Linked DNA regions of Homo sapiens: regions 1, 2, 3, 4, 5 and 6 are each linked to region 7. The links are contacts of gene promoters, found by promoter capture Hi-C in blood cells and fetal thymus (Javierre and others, 2016). All regions are on one chromosome and are shown on one strand. Each heading gives the region's core, a stretch centred on a gene start or on the middle of the fragment in contact. The rest is flanking DNA. Distances are from core to core; before and after follow the strand shown. Region 1 overlaps DUSP4 (dual specificity phosphatase 4). Region 2 overlaps KIF13B (kinesin family member 13B). Region 3 overlaps KIF13B (kinesin family member 13B). Region 4 overlaps KIF13B (kinesin family member 13B). Region 5 has its middle 46 kb from the start of DUSP4. Region 6 overlaps KIF13B (kinesin family member 13B). Region 7 holds the start of SARAF (store-operated calcium entry associated regulatory factor).

Region 1 (2,700 bases), core at 126-2,625, 740 kb after region 7:
AACCATTCCAGGGCTTACCCACTCTCAGGTCAGGAAATACTCCCTTGCCCCAAACCTGTACATAGCATGAGGGGTTTATTTAGATTTAAGCCCGTTTTCCTCTTGTTCTGGTCTCTTGGTGACGGAACAGCTATTCATGAGGACGTGCAATGGACATCTGTTCCATTGCTGAGATCCAGAAGAGTTTGTACCAGGGTCATTTTTTCCCTTCTTTCTCACATTGGAGAACCTCCCCTGAGGAAGGGCTGGAATCAGGGGTGGCAGGTGTCTCTACAGGTACTTAGTGTCCTTGGAAGCCCAGCGTGACCTTTGCTTCTCTATTTTGTCATTGTCCTGAGGAGCTACTCCACAGTCACTTCTGCACATCCCCCTGCACGTCTTCCTTTGTATGTCTACCTCTCTAACCCAAGTCTTGTCCATAAAGCTTATCCTTCCAGCTTTGCTGCAGTCCTGACGAGTGTGTCCTCTGCATCTCTGGAAACCACTCCATGGCCATTCTCTAGGTCCACAGCGCCACCTAGTGGCCAATATGGAGCACGCCAGCCCCTGCCTTCCTAGCAGTCCGCCTGAGTCTGTAGGAGTCGAGTTCTTTCTGACTTCCTGCTGGCTTAGTGACCCCATTAACCTGAGCTTCTTTCTCCTTTACAGGCGGCTATGAGAGGTTTTCCTCCGAGTACCCAGAATTCTGTTCTAAAACCAAGGCCCTGGCAGCCATCCCACCCCCGGTTCCCCCCAGTGCCACAGAGCCCTTGGACCTGGGCTGCAGCTCCTGTGGGACCCCACTACACGACCAGGTAGACTCGGGGGGCAGGGCTTGGAAGTGGGGGGCAGGAACAGCGTAGGGGCCAGTGGATGCCTTCTTTTCAGAGTTCTGACGGTGTTTTTTGTCTTTGCTTTTGAGACAGTCTTGCTCTGTCACCCAGGAGTGCAGTGGTGTGATCATAGCTTACTGCAGCCTCGAACTCCTGGGCTCAAGGGATCCTCCCTGGTAGCTGGGACTACAGGTGGCACTACCATGCCTGGCTAATTTTAAAAGGTTTTTGGTAGAGATGGGGGGGGGGGGTCTTGCTATGTTGCCCAGGCTGGTCTTGAACTCCTGGCCTCAAGTGATCCTCCTGCTTTGGCCTCCCAAAGTGTTGGGATCACAGGCGTGAGCCACTGCATCCAATCCTGAGATTTTTTTAAGTCTTTGAATGTTATGCCTCAATTTGGGGAGAATGCGGTGAACCCGGAGTATTGGGGTGGGATGTTAGGTAGGACCTATTTACTTCTTGGAAATCTTCCCCTTCCCTCTCTAAATATCCTCCTAAGAAAAAAGTCTAAAGACATGACTCCCTGGCTTGGCCTCTAACGTCGTGTCCGGACAAGTGAGGAGGCCTCCAGAAGCCCTGGGGGACCTGCTCTCTGGGAAGCTGAGGTCATTCTCCTCTGAAGTAGCAGGCCATGAAATACATCTCAGTCCCCGACAGGCAGGCTGCTCCCACGTATCAGCCGAATGAACATAGATGGTCACCCACCCTCCCTCCAAGAAAACCTGCTTGAGCCACTGTGTTTCTTATAAGCCCACCCTCCAGCCCTTTCAGTTAGATGGACTCTGCTGCCCACATCTCATGTGCTAAATTTAAGCCACTGTTGCCTCATTTTGCCAAGATCCTCTCTCTTGTCTGTGTGGCCATGAGGGCATCAGCTTATTTATTTGTTTATTTTTAGAGACAGAGTCTCACTCTGTTACCCAGGCTTGAGTCCTGTGGCGCAATCATAGCTCACTGCAGCTTCAAAGTCCTGGGCTCAAATGATCCTCCCATTTCAGCCTCCCAAGCAACTGAGACTACAGGTGTGCACCATCATGCCAGCTTCATTGTTTGAGAGATGAGGTCTCACTGTGTTGCCCATGCTGGTCTTGGAACTCCTGGCTCACATGATCCTGCCACCTCAGCCTCCTAAAGTGCTGAGATTACAGGTGTGAGCCACTGCACACCTGTTTTTGATATGCCCAGTGAATACATATCAAAACAAATAAGTATCTAAACCACACAGCAAATGGCTTGATGATTAGCAGATATAAACTCAGTGTCACAGATGGTGCCATAAGGCCGGCATTGTCCTGCCGCTTATTTTGCCATGGGGGAGGTGCAGGAGAGTCCCACAAGACTTTACCTGCCCTGGCCTCTCTGCTCACAAGTAGAGGGCAAAGGCTGGAGAAGTCCCACTGGGCCTATCACCCCTCCAAGAGTTCCAGGAGGCTACAGGGGGAGGCTGGGAGGGCCAGGCCCAGCAGGCATTCTCCCTGGGTTTGGAAAGGAAAGCTCTTCTCAGACAAGCTTCCACTCCCTGTGCCAAGCACTTTACCCTCATGTCATTCAGGGGCCTTTGTTTCCCTTTCTGTGCAGGGGGGTCCTGTGGAGATCCTTCCCTTCCTCTACCTCGGCAGTGCCTACCATGCTGCCCGGAGAGACATGCTGGACGCCCTGGGCATCACGGCTCTGTTGAATGTCTCCTCGGACTGCCCAAACCACTTTGAAGGACACTATCAGTACAAGTGCATCCCAGTGGAAGATAACCACAAGGCCGACATCAGCTCCTGGTTCATGGAAGCCATAGAGTACATCGGTAGGCTGGCCCTGCTCTGGGGTTCCTGGGTTTGAGGGCGGGTGGGAAGGATAAGGAACCCCTGTAAGCCTGGGTTGAAGGTGGACATTG
Region 2 (2,700 bases), core at 16-2,515, 850 kb after region 7:
AGTCTAATGGGAAGACTGAGATGTTGATCACATCATCTTTTTTAGTAAGGCCATTAAAAATCTTTTTGTTCCTTCTGATAGTTTTACTAGACATCAATTTAGTCAGTATCATTAGGTAATTAATGAGTACCTAATATGAACAAAACACACCCAACCCTTCTTTGGAGCTTCAGTGTACTCTGACCCTGGTGGATGTACAGATTGGAGCCCTTAAAGTATGTGCAGAATTGAGTGAGTTTGACCCATGTCCATACACTTCTCTTGCAAATTATATTGCATAATGCTACTGAGGGGAGGGCCTTATGGCATACATGAAGTCATTTTCAGACTAATTCCTTGTTAGTGGAAGGCATCATTAGGTCATATTAGATAATGACTTTTTAGATTTCTCTACTGCTATATGGATGCTAATTTAAATAGCGATTTTAATTGAAGGAAGTCATGCAAAATGTAATTATGGTACCCACAATAGACCTGTTTGTTCTCTCTGCTGTGAAATGACTTGAGTGGGGCTAATATTTCTCCTCAAATAGAGTCTGCTCCTCTGGAGAACAGTACGTGGTATGTTTTAATTTCATAATGGGGCTCTTCCTCAGGGAGCCCGTCCTGCTAATTTTATTAGAGTACAGTGGGGAGAGCGTGGTTCTGTGTACTCAGAAGTTGTATATGATTCCTCAGCCTCTCCCTTTAAAAAGAATACTGTGATCATTTACTACTTTTGAATATACTTGTGAAGATGAATCAGGGAGACTCTTAAAAGCTAAAAAGATAAGAAAATATGTGTGGTTGAATGCATATCATTGCATAATTAATGGAAGCAGGTAGTCAAATTGCAGCAAATACAAATTTTGCAAAGTTTTACCAGCAGAGTCTAGCTGGTTGCCAAAATAAACTGGTAGCCAATAGACTGCTACTATAGAATTTGATATTTTAGCATTATCATTGAATATAAATATTATTTTGCTCATGCTTTTACTACTTTTGGTGCAGCAATAAGAAGGAATAAACTTTTTAAAAAATACAAGAAAAGAGTCTTTCTTTAGCTCTGTGCTTGAATTACTACCTGGATACTAACATTTGATATGTGGACTCAGGGTTTGTGTATATGGTTAGTTGCCAGCTCTAGATTAAGTTAGTTATGGATAATAGGAATTACGTGTTTTGAATTTCCCTAGAATTCTGGACTCAGCATAAAGTGGTCAGATTGCATATAATATATTAAATAAAATATCTAATTATGAACACAGTTTAGGCAACTACCAGGTCCTACTATTGCATTTTTTTTTTGGCTTATTTTGCTTAGTTTTTTTGACAGTACTTTTTTAGCGCTCTTTGTCTCAATCTGTAGGATAGAAATTGTTACTAATATAAATCAGATGCTGTATAAGAATCTAGATTTCTGTTTTAAAGATGGAGGGAGCAGTATTCCTTGAGGAAATGTGACATGAGAAACCCATTCAGCCACAAAAGTTGTTGTATCATAACATGTTTATAATTTTTTCTGATGCATTCAATATTCGAACATCAACAGTGTGCCAAGTATCAAGCTGAGAGTTAGGTTAATCTTTACCAATCCTTAGTTCCATTAAATTTATGGTGTTATTAATTTTTTTACATGATGTATCTATAAGCATACTAGTAAAAAAAAGCAAAACAAAAAACTGGAAAGCAGAAAAAGTTATTCTGTTGTGCATCTTGTTAGATTTTGCACACTCAAATTTGAAATGATTTGATTGTTTAATTTTGAGAATTGTACATTTTCTTGTGAGAAAGTTTTCTTTTACAAAGAAAAGCGTTTAGAACTCTGGAGTCCTCAAACTTCTTCCACAGAGTTCTTTTAAAAAGCACAGGTATTTTATAGATGGTAAATTTCACCTTTGCTTTACTTCTATCAAACGTAATTTATATATACTTTTAATTAAGTAAAAACTTATATAGGATGGGTCATAATTATTAAGAGTAGTGACTATCTTTATGTTTTGACCTGTATATACAAGTCAGTAATCCTTTTGTTCCACTTTTAGGAAAATTGAAATAGAATTTATGTAAAGATCATCGAATATGTAAAAGTTTTATTTGCAATTTAATTTTTAAAAACTTTTGTTATGGAGAATTTAAAAGATATGCCAATTTAGGCAGAATAGTATAATAGTATAATGAACCTCCATGCTCTTGTCACTCACCCCTGAAAACCATTAATTTGTGGCTGATACTGTCCTAGCTACATCTTCATCCCTGTCTTCTTCCCCATATTATTTTGAAGGAGATCTGATTTTACCCACAGATGTTTTAATGTATCTTTTATTATTTGTAAACATAACCTCAATACCATTTATCATATCTAAACAATTTAAAATAGGTGTGAGGAGGAGGAAAAAAATATAGTGAGGTGGTGGCATCAAATTTTCAGTGTTTAAATGCCCAATTATCTCATCAAGTCTTTTTTTCCCCGAAGTTTGTTTTGAATAGGATTGAGATGTGGTCTGCACTTTGAGGTTGGGTGGTATGGTTTTTAATTTATTGGCTCCTCAGTTGTTGAAGAAGCCGGATCATTTGTTCTGTCCTGTGGATGAATTAATAAGTGAATTTATTACAGGAACTAGGTTATCCTTATTTAGTCAAACACCAAACCTTGTTTATTTTCCTTGTAAATATTTTCATTCTAGCATTCCTTTTCATTCTTCTGACATTACCCTAGGG
Region 3 (2,700 bases), core at 165-2,664, 860 kb after region 7:
TATTCAAGAAGAGGTTTTTCATTTTATAAAGTATCGATAGTGAATATAAAAACTAAAAATATTATGAAATACCCAAATACCAAATTTTATGGTATTTTGATACCAATGGATATGTTGAAAGGAATTTTGTTTAAAAAACAATATTTTGGGCATTATCCTTTGCAACTATTCAAACTTAATTTTGAAAAATCTTGTACATTGACTTAAAAATGTGTGAGCAGTTACAAGGCTTCACAAAATTCTTTTGGGGCACACGAGCAATAATACTTCAATTACTCTAGGTGATACATGTGTACCTTGGATAATTAAGATTCATATTAAAATCATATTGGATACATATTCATTGACTCCTTGAAGAAGATTAAGTTCATATGTGCAATCCTTTTTACCTCTTCTCCTATTTCATTTTTATATTAGTTTCAGTGCTTTTCTGTGCTGCTTTTTCTTTCCTTTTTTTTTTTTTTTAAATACAGGGTCTCACTCTGTTGCCCAAGCTGGAGTGCAGTGGCACGATCACAGCTCACTGCAGGTCGGGTGCGGTGGCTCATGCCTGTAATCCCAGCATTTTGGGAGGCCGAAGCGGGCAGATCACTTGAGGTCAGCAGTTCGAGACCAGCCTGCCCAACATGGCAAAACCCCGCCTCCACTAAAAACACAAAAATTAGCTTGGTGTGGTGGCACATGCCTGTAATCCCAGCTACTTGGGAGGCTGAGGCAGGAGAATTGCTTGAACCTGGGGGGTGGAGGTTGCAGTGAGCTGAGATCATACCACTGCACTCCAGCCTGGGTGACAGAGTGAGACTCCATCTCAAAAAAAAAAAAAAAAAAAAAAAGAACACAGCTCACTGCAGCCTCAGCTTCCCTGGGCTCAGGTGATCCTCCCACAGCAGCCTCTTGAGTAGGTGACACTACAGGTGCATGCCACCGCACCCAGTTAATGTATGTACATATTTAAATTTTAACATATAAAAATATATTTATTTATAGAGATGGGGTTTTGCTGTGTTGCCCAGGCTGGTCTTGAACTCCTGGGTTCAAGCGATCCACTTGTCTTGGCCTCCCAAAGTACTGAGATTTTCTGGGATGTTTTTACATAACGTATTGATACTCATATTTCTTGTTAAATCAACCTTAAACGTTATCTCTCTACTCTTTTCTTACCAACATTATGAGACCCCGTGTTTCTCCTTCCTGCGCTCTTTTACAAGCCACCTTTCTTTATGCATAAGTTGACATTGGTGTGTATGTTTGTATGTATCTTTTTCTGTCAGTGCTAGACCAAAGGGTGTCTTAGGCTTCCTCGTCCTTCTCTGTGGGCTTATTATCAAAACCCATGGGCTGTTTCATGGAGACTGTCCTAATATAGACTTTTTTTTTTAAATAAAGAAATTTTATTTACTTAGAAACATTCAGAATGTCAACAAACCAGCTGTCGCCTTCCCCTCCTTGCCAGTTACTGAGTAGTGTTCAGTTAACAGAACAACAGTTATTTTATATAAGCTGCATCAGAGACAACTGAAGATGAAAAAGCAACAACCATCCCCATATGTAACTAGCTGTCCTGAGCACTGGCAAGACCTGCTTTAAATTTCCATGCCAGTTTACAGCCCCGTAGAGTACCAGGCAAGGCTAGTGACCACTGGGAATACCATCAGGACAGGGCTCTCTGAAGACACATTGGGTAGTACATTAACTATACAAAAGAAGATACTGCACAGTTTAAAAACAAGTCTCACGTAGCCTTACATTTCAGTTTTTTTCTTTAAAGGAGTGAGTTGTGTACAGGGGGGTTAAATTTTTATAGACAAAAATGTATTAGAACCAACTTATTCATCATCATCACTTTCATTTCATTTTTTATTTTTTGAGAGAGGGTCATCACTCTGTTGCCCAGGCTGGAGTGCAGTGGCATGATCTCGGCTCACTGCAAGCTCTACTTCCTGTGCTCATGTGATCCTTCCACCTCAGCCTCCCAGGTAGCTGGGATCATAGGCATGCACCACCACACCCGGCTAATGTTTTGTATTTTTAGTAGAGATGGGGTTTCACCATGTTCCCCAGGCTGGTCTTGAATTCCTGGGTTCAAGCGATCTGCCTGCCTTGGCCTCCCACAGTGTTGGGATTACAGGCGTGAGCCACCGAGGCTTGCCTTATTTATTTATTTATTTATTTATTTATTTATTTTGGAAACAGGGTGTCACCCAGGCTGGAGTGCAGTGACACAATCTTGGCTCACTGAAGCCTCTGCCTCCCCGACTCAGGTGATTTTCTCACCGCAGCCTCCCGAGTTGCTGGGACTATAGGCACCATGCTTGGCTAACTTTTTTTGTATTTTTTGTAGAGATGGGGTTTCACCATGTTGCCAAGGCTAGTCTTGAACTCCTGGGCTCAAGCGATTCAACTGTCTCAGTTCCCAAAGTACTGGGATTACAGGCATGAGGCACCGTGCCTGACCCATCATCTTCATTTTCTTTTCTACTCCTCCTTTTCGTCTTCATCTTTCTCTTCTTCTTCCTCTTCCTTTTCTTGCTTTTTTGCAGCCTTGATGACTGCCTTTTTCACCCCATCAGGCTTTTCTTGAGTTCATATGCAGTAATAGACTTTTTGTGTTTTCTTTCAGCTTAGCAGCCCTCTGGTCTTGGGTCTGCCTGGCATCGGCAGCAGCGTTATTATTCCACATCTTGCCCAGTTCTTTCCAAC
Region 4 (2,700 bases), core at 146-2,645, 880 kb after region 7:
AACAGTGTTAATTATTCTTATACTAAAGAAATAACCCACTTCCTATAATCCCAGCACTTTGGGAGGCTGAGGTAGGCAGATCACCTGAGGTCTGGAGTTCGAGACAGCCTGGCCAACATGGTGAAACGCTGCCTCTACTAAAAGTACAAAAATTAGCTGGGCATGGTGGTGGGTGCCTGTAGTCCCAGCTACTTGGGAGGCTGAGGCAGAAGAATCGCTTGAACCCAGAAGGCAGAGATTACAGTGAGCCAAGATCTTGCCACTGCACTCTAGCCTGGGCAACAGAGCAAGACTCTGTCTCAAAACAACAATAAAATAAAGAGATATCCCACTTGCGGCAACCTTCCCCAGTATATCTTACTGAATGCAGCCCTGGAAGTGACCTAAAACAAGTTAGCTTCCCTGCCAGGTATGAGTCCCCTCAGCTTTGAGGCTGGGCAGCCTGTCTTCCTCTCATCTTACCCGCTCCAGCTACAGGGATTTCCCCTTCTTTCACTGGTAGAGTTTTCAAATCCCCCCGCCTCCTGAATGCTATTATTCTCCAGTCATACTCTACTTTATCAATGTTGCTATTAGAATTTATCCTTCAAAAGTGGATGGAAAATTCTAGATATTGAGGACACAACGAACAGGGCTTTTTGTGATATTTGTACTTCTTACAGAGAGTTGACTGGAGTAAGCAAATGTTGAGAAGCTTCTGTTGTGAGTGTAGTCACTTTCTAAATTTCAAGTCAGCTCGGCTTCATTCCATGTATGGAAAGTACAGTGGGGGAGGAGTGACAAAGAAAAAAATCATACTCATCACACAGATTGTTGTTTGGTTGCTGGTAGTGCCAGCCAAGTTCAAAAAAGCAACAATATCATGACGTAGTATGGCTGTATTAGAATAAGCTCTTTGTGATGTATACATCCGTTATACAGCGGGTTGGGGTGGGGTCTTGTTGAACCAGAGATTCCAAATATTTCAGTTGTGAAGATTTCAGCAACTCAGACCTTTAGAATTAAAAGAGATGATGGGATTTGGATTCAGTATTTGATTTTGGTAGTTGACAACAGTAAATGATCTATAACTTTCCTTTCTACTGATATTATTTTGTGTTTTACACATATGTGATACTGTGTGGTTTACTTTTGGACCCAATATCAATTTTTTTTGTGTCATGGACAGAAGTATTACAACATTTTCAGAGGTGATGAGTTTATAAAATTTCTTCTTCGTATTTTGGCATTCTAGAGATTACAGATATAATTTGATTTCTTTGTATGATGTGATTTGTTATTCAAATGAGAAGTGAGCATGAGCCCACAAGCCAGATCAGTAAAAAGGAGGAAGAGGTTAGTTTATTCATAGATAACTGTCTTTATCCCAGATATGCAGCCATATTGTTTGTTGTTTCCCAAGCTGCCTGCTTCCAAAAAAGCACATTCATCCATGGTCATCCACCTGGGCTGGGGAGGTCTCCAGTAACTAAACAGTCACTATTTGGGAGATAGTAATTGTTGCAGGCAAGAATTATAAGTGGGTGCTAAAATTTGCAGGTGAAAGTATGACGATGAGAAACAGAGTGTTTACATAGTTTAAAAGTTTATCCCCCACATGATTCTTATTTGTTACGAAGGTAAAAATAGTAATTTTACTGTGGGAAACCTCATAGATCCAGCCTTGACCAAGTGATCAGAATTAACATGATCAGTAATGGCACATGCACCTCATATGACTCTTGGTAGAATGCACCAAGGAGGGCGCAATGTGACTTCAGTGGTGGGCTTGCCAAAATGCACAATCTGGATTTAGTCAGGAGGAAGCATTAGGCAAACCCAGATTGAGGGACATTCTACAAAATAAATGGCCAGTCCTCTTCAAGTGTCAAGGTCATGACAGACAAAGTGCCCCAGGTTGGAGGAGACATGACAAGTATATGTAACACAAGGTCTTGGACCAAAAAAAGGACATTAGTGGGGGTAATTGGCAAAATTTGGAGGAGGTTGTCTATAGGTTATTTAATAAACTGTGTTGATGGTTAATTTCTTGGTTTTGGTCATTGTAGCTGTGGTGATATAAGAAATATTTGGTGGTTAACATTTGAGGAAGCTTGGAGAAGGGTGTACAGGATTTTTTTGTACTATTTTTGGAGCTTTTTGTAAGCCTGAAAGTATTTCAAAATAAAGTTAAGCAACAACAACAACAAAAATAATTCAACTCAGCTGAGAAATTACAGCTTTAGTGCTTGTACTTGAGACATTTCTCTGGATTGGTCAGCAGCTGCTTTTGCTTCCTGAATCTCCACAGTGATCTGGATAGTTGAGGTTTCTAATTAAGGGATCTTGGGATGAGTGAGACATGGCTGTATTGAATTGCAGCTACACTTTGACAAGGTGTTGTTTAATTAATTAATTTATTTATTTTTGTACAGGGTTGTAATTACATCTTTGGGTGTCCCATGCCTTTGCAGGTTATTTGAGCTTTACTGTCATAGCCATCAGAATCCCTAGCTGCAAACTTAGCTCTGTAATTAATTTACTGGTTTGTTTCTGTTTTTATTATGATGATGTGAATTCAGGTTAGTCCCATGGATTCTTCTGCTATGTGTCATATGTTATTGAATTTCATACTTGTTGTTTGTCTTAGGAAGAGTTGATGTTTTTGGTATAAAAACATTTTATTTAAACTTGAAATATCATACTAAATATATATTTTTC
Region 5 (2,700 bases), core at 49-2,548, 690 kb after region 7:
GAAAGGCATGAACAGCAATAGAGCAGAGCTAATGTTGCACAGGAAAGGGTCTAGGAGGGTTACTGTCCCACAGGGCCATCATAGCATGTTATAACCCTTTGCCCTTTGAACTCTGTGTGTTTTGTGCTTTGGGCATTTACAGCATTCTCTGTCATACTTGTAGCTTTGTGTCTGTATCCACACAGAGAGTATTTCTTCTAATAAGATGCAGATTCCTTATGGAAGAGATAATCCTTTTTTTTCTTTAGTATCCTTCACCCCACAGTGACAGGAAGAGGTTTGTATGCAGAGAAGCAGGTAATAAGCTATTATGTCTCCCATCAGAATGTTGTAATTGAGGTTGTTCACTGCCTACCATTTCATACTGGTGTCTGGGCACAGAAGCCAACCGCATTTCCCAGACTCCCTTATGGTTCAGAGTGTCATGTGACTCAGTTCTCACCCAACAGACTGTGAATGGAAATGACATGTGTCACTTCTAGGCTTGAGCGTTAGAAAGTGGCCATGCCTTTTCTGAATTATTTTGTCTTTCCTACCAGCAAACCTACTCACCACCCAAGCTTCAACCATGTAGCAATGACAAGACCATAGTTGATGGTGGAGTAACCCAGTAGAAGGAAACTGGGTCCTTGATAGCTGGTGTGGAGCAGAGCTGCCTGCCAACTGGAGTGTCTCTTTGGACTATTATATGAGAGAGGAACACAGTTCTAACTTTAACCACCAAATTATTGCTGAGTCTCAATTACTATAGCTAACCCTAAACCAACTCAGAGAAATACGAACTCCAATAGGTCAGGGATCTTACCTGCCTTGTTTATACCTGGCAGAAATAGGCATTAACAACTATTTGTTGAACTAATAAATGAAATCGCCCCCCAGAAATGTGAATGAGGAAAAATTTATGGATGAGACTAATAGGCCCTTCCTAGATGTCACTAGGAAACTTACGTAAAATGGAAACATTGCTAAGCACATTATTAGCTTAGAATTGTAATTTTTAATTGTGAAAATAAAATAATATGATGAAGTTGAGTATTGAAGGGAAAAATCTGGACGTACTGATTGGCCCATTCTTCTCCAACACCATTAATAGGAGACAGTCCCTGACCCAGTCTGCTTGACATATATAGCTGTGTAGAGAAGAGAATGAAGGATAAACCTAGCACAGATTGATGAAAACATGCTAATATTATCCAACTCTTTTTGTTCTGCTTATGATTTCACTGAGTGATCTTCCCATATTCTTTGATTTTCTAAGCAAACTTTCCCATTAGAAGATGAAGAAAAAAAGAAGCACTTATTCACCACTGCATATCAGATCAATTGTTACCTATATTCATGTATCGGTTAGGATCAACTAGGTTCTGTTGCAATAACAAAAATTCTAAAATCTACATGCTATACTGGAATAAAGTTTTAATTACTGCTAATGCTTACATGTCCATTATAGGTTCATGAGTAGGCAGTCTATGCTCATTGTAATGATCCAGGGACCTAGGATGATAGGGTACTCACTACCTCAAATGTTGTCAGTTTCTGTGCCGGAAGGAAACAGAGTGAGTTGTGGAGGGTCTTGAACCAGCAATTAAATGTTCCAGCTAATGTGACAATTGGCTTAGCTTGCTGGGGACTGTCCTGATTTAGCACTGTAATTCTCACATCCTGGGAAACCCCTCAGTCTCAGGAAACTAGGACACTTGGTCACCTTCGCTGTAGCCCAGATGTGACATATCACATTTCTACTCACAACTTAATGTCAAGACCCTGTTGTGTGTATCCTCTGCCCAACTACATGGGGGCCGAGAGGTACAATCTGAAAATGTGCCCAGAAGTAGAAAGAACCAGAAATAGTTGACAAGCAGTATGAGCATAAACTCTGATCATAAATTGGTATTCTGATTTATAAATCACTCTCTCATGAATTTATTTTTTTACTCCTTATTTTTGATTTCAGGGGAACTTGGCTATATGAGTCAATTCTGAATTTCTATCTCTATGCTAAATTATGCAGGAGCTGTAGAGATAAGTAAGCTTTAAGTCTTGCCCTCAATAGAGTTTTAAATTAATAGGGGAAAGAAGATACTAACATTATAAGATGAATGCAAAAGTACATAGAAAAGGCTGAGATGTTAACAGTAGAGAGGAATCACACCCAGTTGAAAAGTCAGTCAGGCGAATAATTCAAAAGGAATAATATTACCCCATATGATAGTATTCATCAGAGATATCAGCACACAAAAAATCAGAACCATACCATCAAGCCCTCCAAGAAACCTTGCCCAATTATCAAACCCTCCACCAAATCTTCCAAATTTAAGACTATTAAAACTGATCCCAAAGGCTGGGTTTGTTACTTACATGTTATTATCCTAGCCTTCGTATTTTACAAACCTTTGAAAAAAATTTATTTTCACTCACTCAATACTTATAGCACGCTATGTCATTTTACCAGTGTTATTTTTGCCATCACTTTTAGGAAATCTCTGCATTATTCTAAAATTCTTCAATAACATCCCTATAAGTGAAAACTGGCATTGATGTGTGGGGATGTTTTGTTCTCTGATAATTATTCTTAATAAAAATGACGAGTCTGTACACTGCCTACTTGCAGTTGACAGGGGAGGTGTTGTGCATGTTACCACAATTAACCAACTAGTGACTTAGAAACAGATTTAAAAGAAAGAGATGTCAACCGGCCTT
Region 6 (2,700 bases), core at 69-2,568, 830 kb after region 7:
TGGCTTTGACCCCTGGGGTCATTGGTGATTCTTCAGTATTCTCAGAGAGATCACTGACAGATGTGGAGCCAAGGAGGACCGTGGATGGAAATTTCTGGCAGTATTTGCTAAAACAGAAGATACTTGTTTTGTCAGCATCTGCTTGACATGCTAATGGTGAATGAGACACACATGTATTACAACATTGTTTTGTTTCTACTGTCAACTCAGTGACTGAAATTTGGATATATGCACATAGGGCCAGAGGCATTTTGAGAAGAAGGTATACTTTTAAATTCTTTTCCCCAAATCTCCTGTTTTTTGTTTGTTGGTTGGTTTCTTTGTTTTTATTTATTTATTTTTTTTGAGACAGGGTCTCCCTCTGTTGCCCAGGCTGGAGTGCAGTGGCATGATCATCACTCACTGCATCCTCAACCTCAACCTCCTGGGCTCTAGCGATATTCCTGCTGCAGCCTGCTGTGGAGTTGGTACATAGGTGTGCACAACCATGTCTGTCTAATTTCAATATTTTTTGTAGAGATAGGGTCTCACTTTGTTGCTCTGGCTGGCCAGACCTCTTTTCAAGAAATATACATTTATAATATAAAATACAATGTTGTTTAATTGGCATTAGCTTTTACCCTCTCACCTCCATAAAACAATAACTGTCCGACTTTTCCACTTCTTAAGTGCTGAAAATGGAAGAAACCACTGACAAAACTATTAATTAAGGAGATGGATTGAAGTGCTGATTGAGTGGAAATGGATGTATTGATCTCTATGCTTGCTCCTCAAGTTCCCCTTGTGTTTGGCAGAGCATGTTCTTTAAAAAAAAAAACAAAAACTCGACCAAGATGAGCAGTGTGCCCTGTGACCTGGGAAGTGCGTGAAACTAACTGGTCCACTCCATGCAAGTCCATGACTTAACTGTATGGGGCTTTCGCTCTGAGGAGATAAAGATATCTTTAGAAAATGGTATCCATTAGTCATTCATTTCAACAGTGTTGACTGAAGAAAAAGAAAATAGCTGCTTTTTGACAACTTTCTATTTGCGAGCAATGGAGTTCAATGCTTTTTAATGCATTATTTTATTCTTCAAACCAGACTTTGAAAAGGAATTGTAGGCCAGGTGTGGTGGCTCACCCCTGTACTCCCAGCACTTTGGGAGGCCGAGGTGGGTGGATCACTTGAGGCCAGGAGTTTGAGACCAGACTGGCCAACATGGTGAAACCCTGTCTCTACTAAAAATACAGAAACTAGCTGGGTGTGGTGGTGAGTGCCTGTAATCCCAGCTACTCAGGAGGCTGAGGTGGGATAATCGCTTCAACCTGGAAGGCGGAGGTTGCAGTGAGCTGAAATCGCACCACTGCACTCTAGCCTGGGCGACAGAGCGAGACTGTCTCAAAACAAACAAACAAACAAACAAAAAAAGTAGTAATTGTAGCATTTCTATGTAGCAGAACCTCAGAGAGGTTAATTAACATTCCCAGAATTACAAAACCCACCTGTGCTTTTACTACAATGTTGGACATGATTATCTTTAAGAGGATCTTGCTATCCTGAGATGACACCATTTTCAAAGATGTGCAGGATAAACTGGAAGCATAAGTCTTGATCTTCCATCAAAGGAGCTCCCAGTCTTGTTGATAATAAGATGCACATGTGAGTTCATTGGAAGAATATATGTACCTAGTGCACTGATGGCAGCCAATCATGAATTAAAGAAATGGGGGTGGAATTTGAGAACAGCACAGAAGACAGCACAAGCAGGCCCCTTGGCTCCAAGTTCCACCGGGGTGACGTGGAGGAATCCAGATGGGTGCTGCACATACAGTGGGTTTGTGTCGGCATCTGAGGATCACTGAACTTGGGGAATCCGCTGCAAAGTCTCTGATTTAGATGACTAGGTGAATGCTGGTGTCATTAACTGAATCAGAAGCACAGGAGAAGCAGGTTTTAGGGTGGAGGTGTGGGAAATGATGAGTTCTAGTCTCAGTCAACAGTGTGTCGTCAGTGCTTATGTGCTGTGTACCCTGCCTGCAACTATGAATAAGATGCAGTGTGTGCCTGGAAGCAACTCAGCACAATTGAGTTTTAGGTGTCTGAAGTGCAGCCAGGTGGATGGATCCAGAAGGCCATTGTGAATATGAGTCTGAAACGAAGGGACTGGACGTAGGTGTAGATTTCGGAGTCATTACTGTAGGTAGAAGATAGAGCACCTCAGGTGTGTCTGTGACAGAGGCGGTCACAGAGGCCAAGAAGAGCAACCTCAGGAGAATCAGGTGAAAGCAATGTTGTGGATGCCTAGGGAGGAAAAATGTGTCAAAAGAGTGAAAGGTGAAAGCAATCACATGTCACAGGAATGGCCGCGTGATTAACACAGAATTGTGTTCAGTGGATTTGGCATTATGATGGTCAGTGTTCATTTTCAGGATAATTTCACTGAAACGAATTAATTGGTATTGGGCATTGGCAGTGGGCTGAGGAGTGAGTGGGCGTGCCAGTATGGAGGCAGCGAGTCTCAAGAACATTCCTCTGAGAAACTCCAGGTAGAAGGGGAGGGTTCAGAGTGGTACCTGGAGGGGTAGGTACCTTTTTTTAAAAAAAAAAGTTTTGGGGAGATATTTGAACCTTGTATAGATAGAGCCAATAGATAGAAGTTTTTGAAATATGGGAGGAAGAGAATAATTATATAATGGGAAAGCCCAGGAATTTCAAGCT
Region 7 (2,700 bases), core at 77-2,576:
CTATTTTTCCTATTTTTAGTAGAGGTGGGGTTTTGCCATGCTGGCCAGGCTGGTCTTAAAGTCCTGACCTCAGGCGATTCACCTGCCTTGGCCTTCCAAAATGCTGGGATTACAGGCATGAGCCACCACGCCCGGCCTGGAAACCCTAATTTATAGCTGGTTGGTCAGAAGCATAGGTCACAACCTGAGACTTGTGATTGATGTCTGAAGTTGGGGCCATCTTGTGGGACTGAACTCTTTATAGGATCTGACCAAATAACTCTTCCTCGAAACACAAAGTTAGGGCTTTTGCATCCACTGTTCCCCAGATGGGAAGATGAGTCCCCTGATCTTTGTACGGCTAGTTCTTTCTCATCATTCAGGTCCCAAGCTTCAAAAACCACTTCCTCAGCAAGGCCCTCCCTGAAGTTGTGTCCCCAGGCTCCATTATATCACCCTGTTTTTCATCAATGTTATTACCTATCATTACCTATTATTTTTGTTGTTTAATTGGTATGTCGTTTGTCCTATTCTATTTCAATGAGTACAGGGATCTTGTCTGTACCATCCATGCCTAAAACAGTGCCTGGTGCGTATTAGGTATTCAACATATATTCATTGAATGAATGAATGAATGAATGAATGAATGAATGAATGAAAGAAACCCAAGCCTGCTAGACCTCAAAAGCCCAGAGAACTGTTTTCTCTGGCTGGTTCTTCATTCAGACGATATTTTCTCCTCTTGACATTTTATAGTCTTCCGGCCTCCATGCGCAAGGAACCATGTAAAGGTTCTGAGCCTTGAAACCAGACAATGTATTTCCCTGTTACTTTTCGCTTGAATCTTCTCTGTATTTAGCAACCAGTCATAGAACACTAACCATGTACCAAGCGCTATGCTAAGTGCTGAACACATAGAGCTGAATAAAGCACAGAACTACCCTTGGTACAATTATTGAGGTTTTAATAATACATAATTTGACTACATTTCTTAGATTTCGCGTCGTGACGTTTTCAGCCTCTCAAACTGCATCGCCTACGCACAGAAGCTTCCCGAATCTCAGACGAGACACAACAAAGCTGCGCGCTGCCCTCGCCCCGCCCGCGGGCGCGGCGGCGACAGGCCCTCGGCCCCGCCCACACCGCGGCGCCACGCCTCCAACCCGCCTCCAGCCGTGCCTCCCCAGGCCCTTGGCCCCGCCCACACCGCCTCGCCCCGCCCCAAGCCGCGCTGTGCTCCAGGGGCGGGGGCCCACGGCGGCCACTCACTGAGCCCCACGGGCCGCAGCGGCAGTGACGTAGGGTTGGCGCACGGATCCGTTGCGGCTGCAGCTCTGCAGTCGGGCCGTTCCTTCGCCGCCGCCAGGGGTAGCGGTGTAGCTGCGCAGCGTCGCGCGCGCTACCGCACCCAGGTTCGGCCCGTAGGCGTCTGGCAGCCCGGCGCCATCTTCATCGAGCGCCATGGCCGCAGCCTGCGGGCCGGGAGCGGCCGGGTACTGCTTGCTCCTCGGCTTGCATTTGTTTCTGCTGACCGCGGGCCCTGCCCTGGGCTGGAACGACCCTGGTGAGTGCTGCCAGGGCCCTCAGGCGCTTCGTTCGCCCTTTTCCGCCGCCGTCAGCCGGTGCAGGCTCCCCTGCGTTTCCGTGCGCCGTCTTCCCGGAGCCTGGGTGCCCGGATTCCCCATGTCTGACCTCTTTGCTGTTCGTGCTCTCCCTGGTTCCACTGCTCTTCCCAGGCGTCTTGGGAGGCGGGTAGGGACTGCTCGAGTGGGCGGGGCGGGACGGCTGGAGATCCTTAAGGTCCCCTTTCTCCCTGCCCCGGACTCCCGGAATTTGCCCATTGTCGTCTTTCTCATCTCTGAGTATAACTGGAGAGCTGGACACTCACCTGCGCATCTGCTTTGTTGTTATGGCTGTGTGATGTCATCGTGGCCTGCTGTTGTCATGGCTGCCTGTTGCTATCGCCGGCCGTTGCCTGCCACTGGCAGTCTCTGAGTCACCCTTAGCGGACAGGGCTGCAGACCTCGCAGGTCTGTTAGCAGAATCGCAGATTGCACTCTTTTTTTTTTTTTTGAGTCGGAGTCTCACATTGTCGCCCCGGCCGCACTGCAATGACGTGATCTCGGCTCACTGCAACCTCCGCCTCCTGGGTTCAAGAGATTCTCCTGCCTCGGCCTCACCGGTAGCTGAGATTACGGGTGCCCACCACCATGCCTGGCTATTTTTTTGTATTTTTAGTAGAGACGGGGTTTTACTATGTTGGCCAGGCTGGTCTCGACCTCCTGACCTCGTGATCCACCCGCCTTCATCCTCCCAAAGTGCTGGGATTACAGGCGTGAGCCACCGCGTCTTTATGAGAACCGCTGCCTCTTATCTGACGATTGCAGTGATGTACATCGCGCGGCACCAGCTCTTCCCATTGGCTTTCACCGTAGAGAAGAATTTAAAAAATAATTTTCTCGGTTTTTTTTAGTGATGGTACATGATAAGTGGGTTTTAGGAAAGAGGTTCTTTTATGTCAGTACAGTATTAAAATTGTCTAAAGAATTTTCATGGGATCAGTAATATTCCGTGCAATTAATACGTATATGTCTATATACTTAGATACAGATTTTGACTTTTTCCATGTAATAAATGACGCATGCTGTTACTTTGGAATTCTGTAAAAAAAAAAAAAAATGAAAACAACATCATTTTTGCTTTGCGAAGTAAAGATGGCAT

The links. The method cuts DNA at HindIII sites, captures the fragments that hold promoters and counts their contacts. A CHiCAGO score of 5 or more calls a contact.
Region 1: a contact is called between a fragment that was not itself captured here and the fragment with the promoter of SARAF in region 7, in 17 of 17 cell types (fetal thymus, activated CD4 T cells, M0 macrophages and 14 more). The highest score is 26.2, in fetal thymus.
Region 2: a fragment that was not itself captured here is called in contact with the fragment with the promoter of SARAF in region 7 in 1 of 17 cell types (monocytes); the score reaches 5.0 in monocytes.
Region 3: a fragment that was not itself captured here is called in contact with the fragment with the promoter of SARAF in region 7 in 1 of 17 cell types (monocytes); the score reaches 5.1 in monocytes.
Region 4: a contact is called between a fragment that was not itself captured here and the fragment with the promoter of SARAF in region 7, in 2 of 17 cell types (M1 macrophages and monocytes). The highest score is 6.5, in M1 macrophages.
Region 5: a contact is called between a fragment that was not itself captured here and the fragment with the promoter of SARAF in region 7, in 1 of 17 cell types (activated CD4 T cells). The highest score is 5.0, in activated CD4 T cells.
Region 6: a fragment that was not itself captured here is called in contact with the fragment with the promoter of SARAF in region 7 in 1 of 17 cell types (monocytes); the score reaches 6.1 in monocytes.

Annotation. Positions count from the first base shown.
Region 1 is chr8:29,338,192-29,340,891 of GRCh38, reverse strand. DUSP4 (dual specificity phosphatase 4) reads left to right here. Exons shown (of 4, transcript NM_001394.7): 2 at 649-794; 3 at 2,391-2,610. Among named protein-coding and RNA genes, the nearest start is that of DUSP4, 11 kb to the left of the region's middle. RefSeq lists an enhancer at 386-680. The HindIII fragment of the contact is 1,897 bases long and covers 427-2,323 here.
Region 2 is chr8:29,235,871-29,238,570 of GRCh38, reverse strand. All of the region lies in intron 2 of KIF13B (kinesin family member 13B), which reads left to right. Among named protein-coding and RNA genes, the nearest start is that of KIF13B, 26 kb to the left of the region's middle. The HindIII fragment of the contact is 8,290 bases long and covers 1-2,700 here.
Region 3 is chr8:29,219,231-29,221,930 of GRCh38, reverse strand. All of the region lies in intron 2 of KIF13B (kinesin family member 13B), which reads left to right. It also overlaps the pseudogene HMGB1P23. Among named protein-coding and RNA genes, the nearest start is that of KIF13B, 42 kb to the left of the region's middle. The HindIII fragment of the contact is 9,413 bases long and covers 1-2,700 here.
Region 4 is chr8:29,199,937-29,202,636 of GRCh38, reverse strand. All of the region lies in intron 2 of KIF13B (kinesin family member 13B), which reads left to right. Among named protein-coding and RNA genes, the nearest start is that of KIF13B, 62 kb to the left of the region's middle. The HindIII fragment of the contact is 1,398 bases long and covers 697-2,094 here.
Region 5 is chr8:29,395,583-29,398,282 of GRCh38, reverse strand. No RefSeq gene overlaps it. Among named protein-coding and RNA genes, the nearest start is that of DUSP4, 46 kb to the right of the region's middle. The HindIII fragment of the contact is 1,471 bases long and covers 563-2,033 here.
Region 6 is chr8:29,255,457-29,258,156 of GRCh38, reverse strand. All of the region lies in intron 1 of KIF13B (kinesin family member 13B), which reads left to right. Among named protein-coding and RNA genes, the nearest start is that of KIF13B, 6.3 kb to the left of the region's middle. The HindIII fragment of the contact is 2,764 bases long and covers 1-2,700 here.
Region 7 is chr8:30,081,690-30,084,389 of GRCh38, reverse strand. SARAF (store-operated calcium entry associated regulatory factor) reads left to right here and starts at 1,326. Exons shown (of 6, transcript NM_016127.6): 1 at 1,326-1,543. The coding sequence starts at 1,441. RefSeq lists a silencer at 1,003-1,372 and an enhancer at 1,413-1,762. The HindIII fragment of the contact is 3,638 bases long and covers 1,031-2,700 here.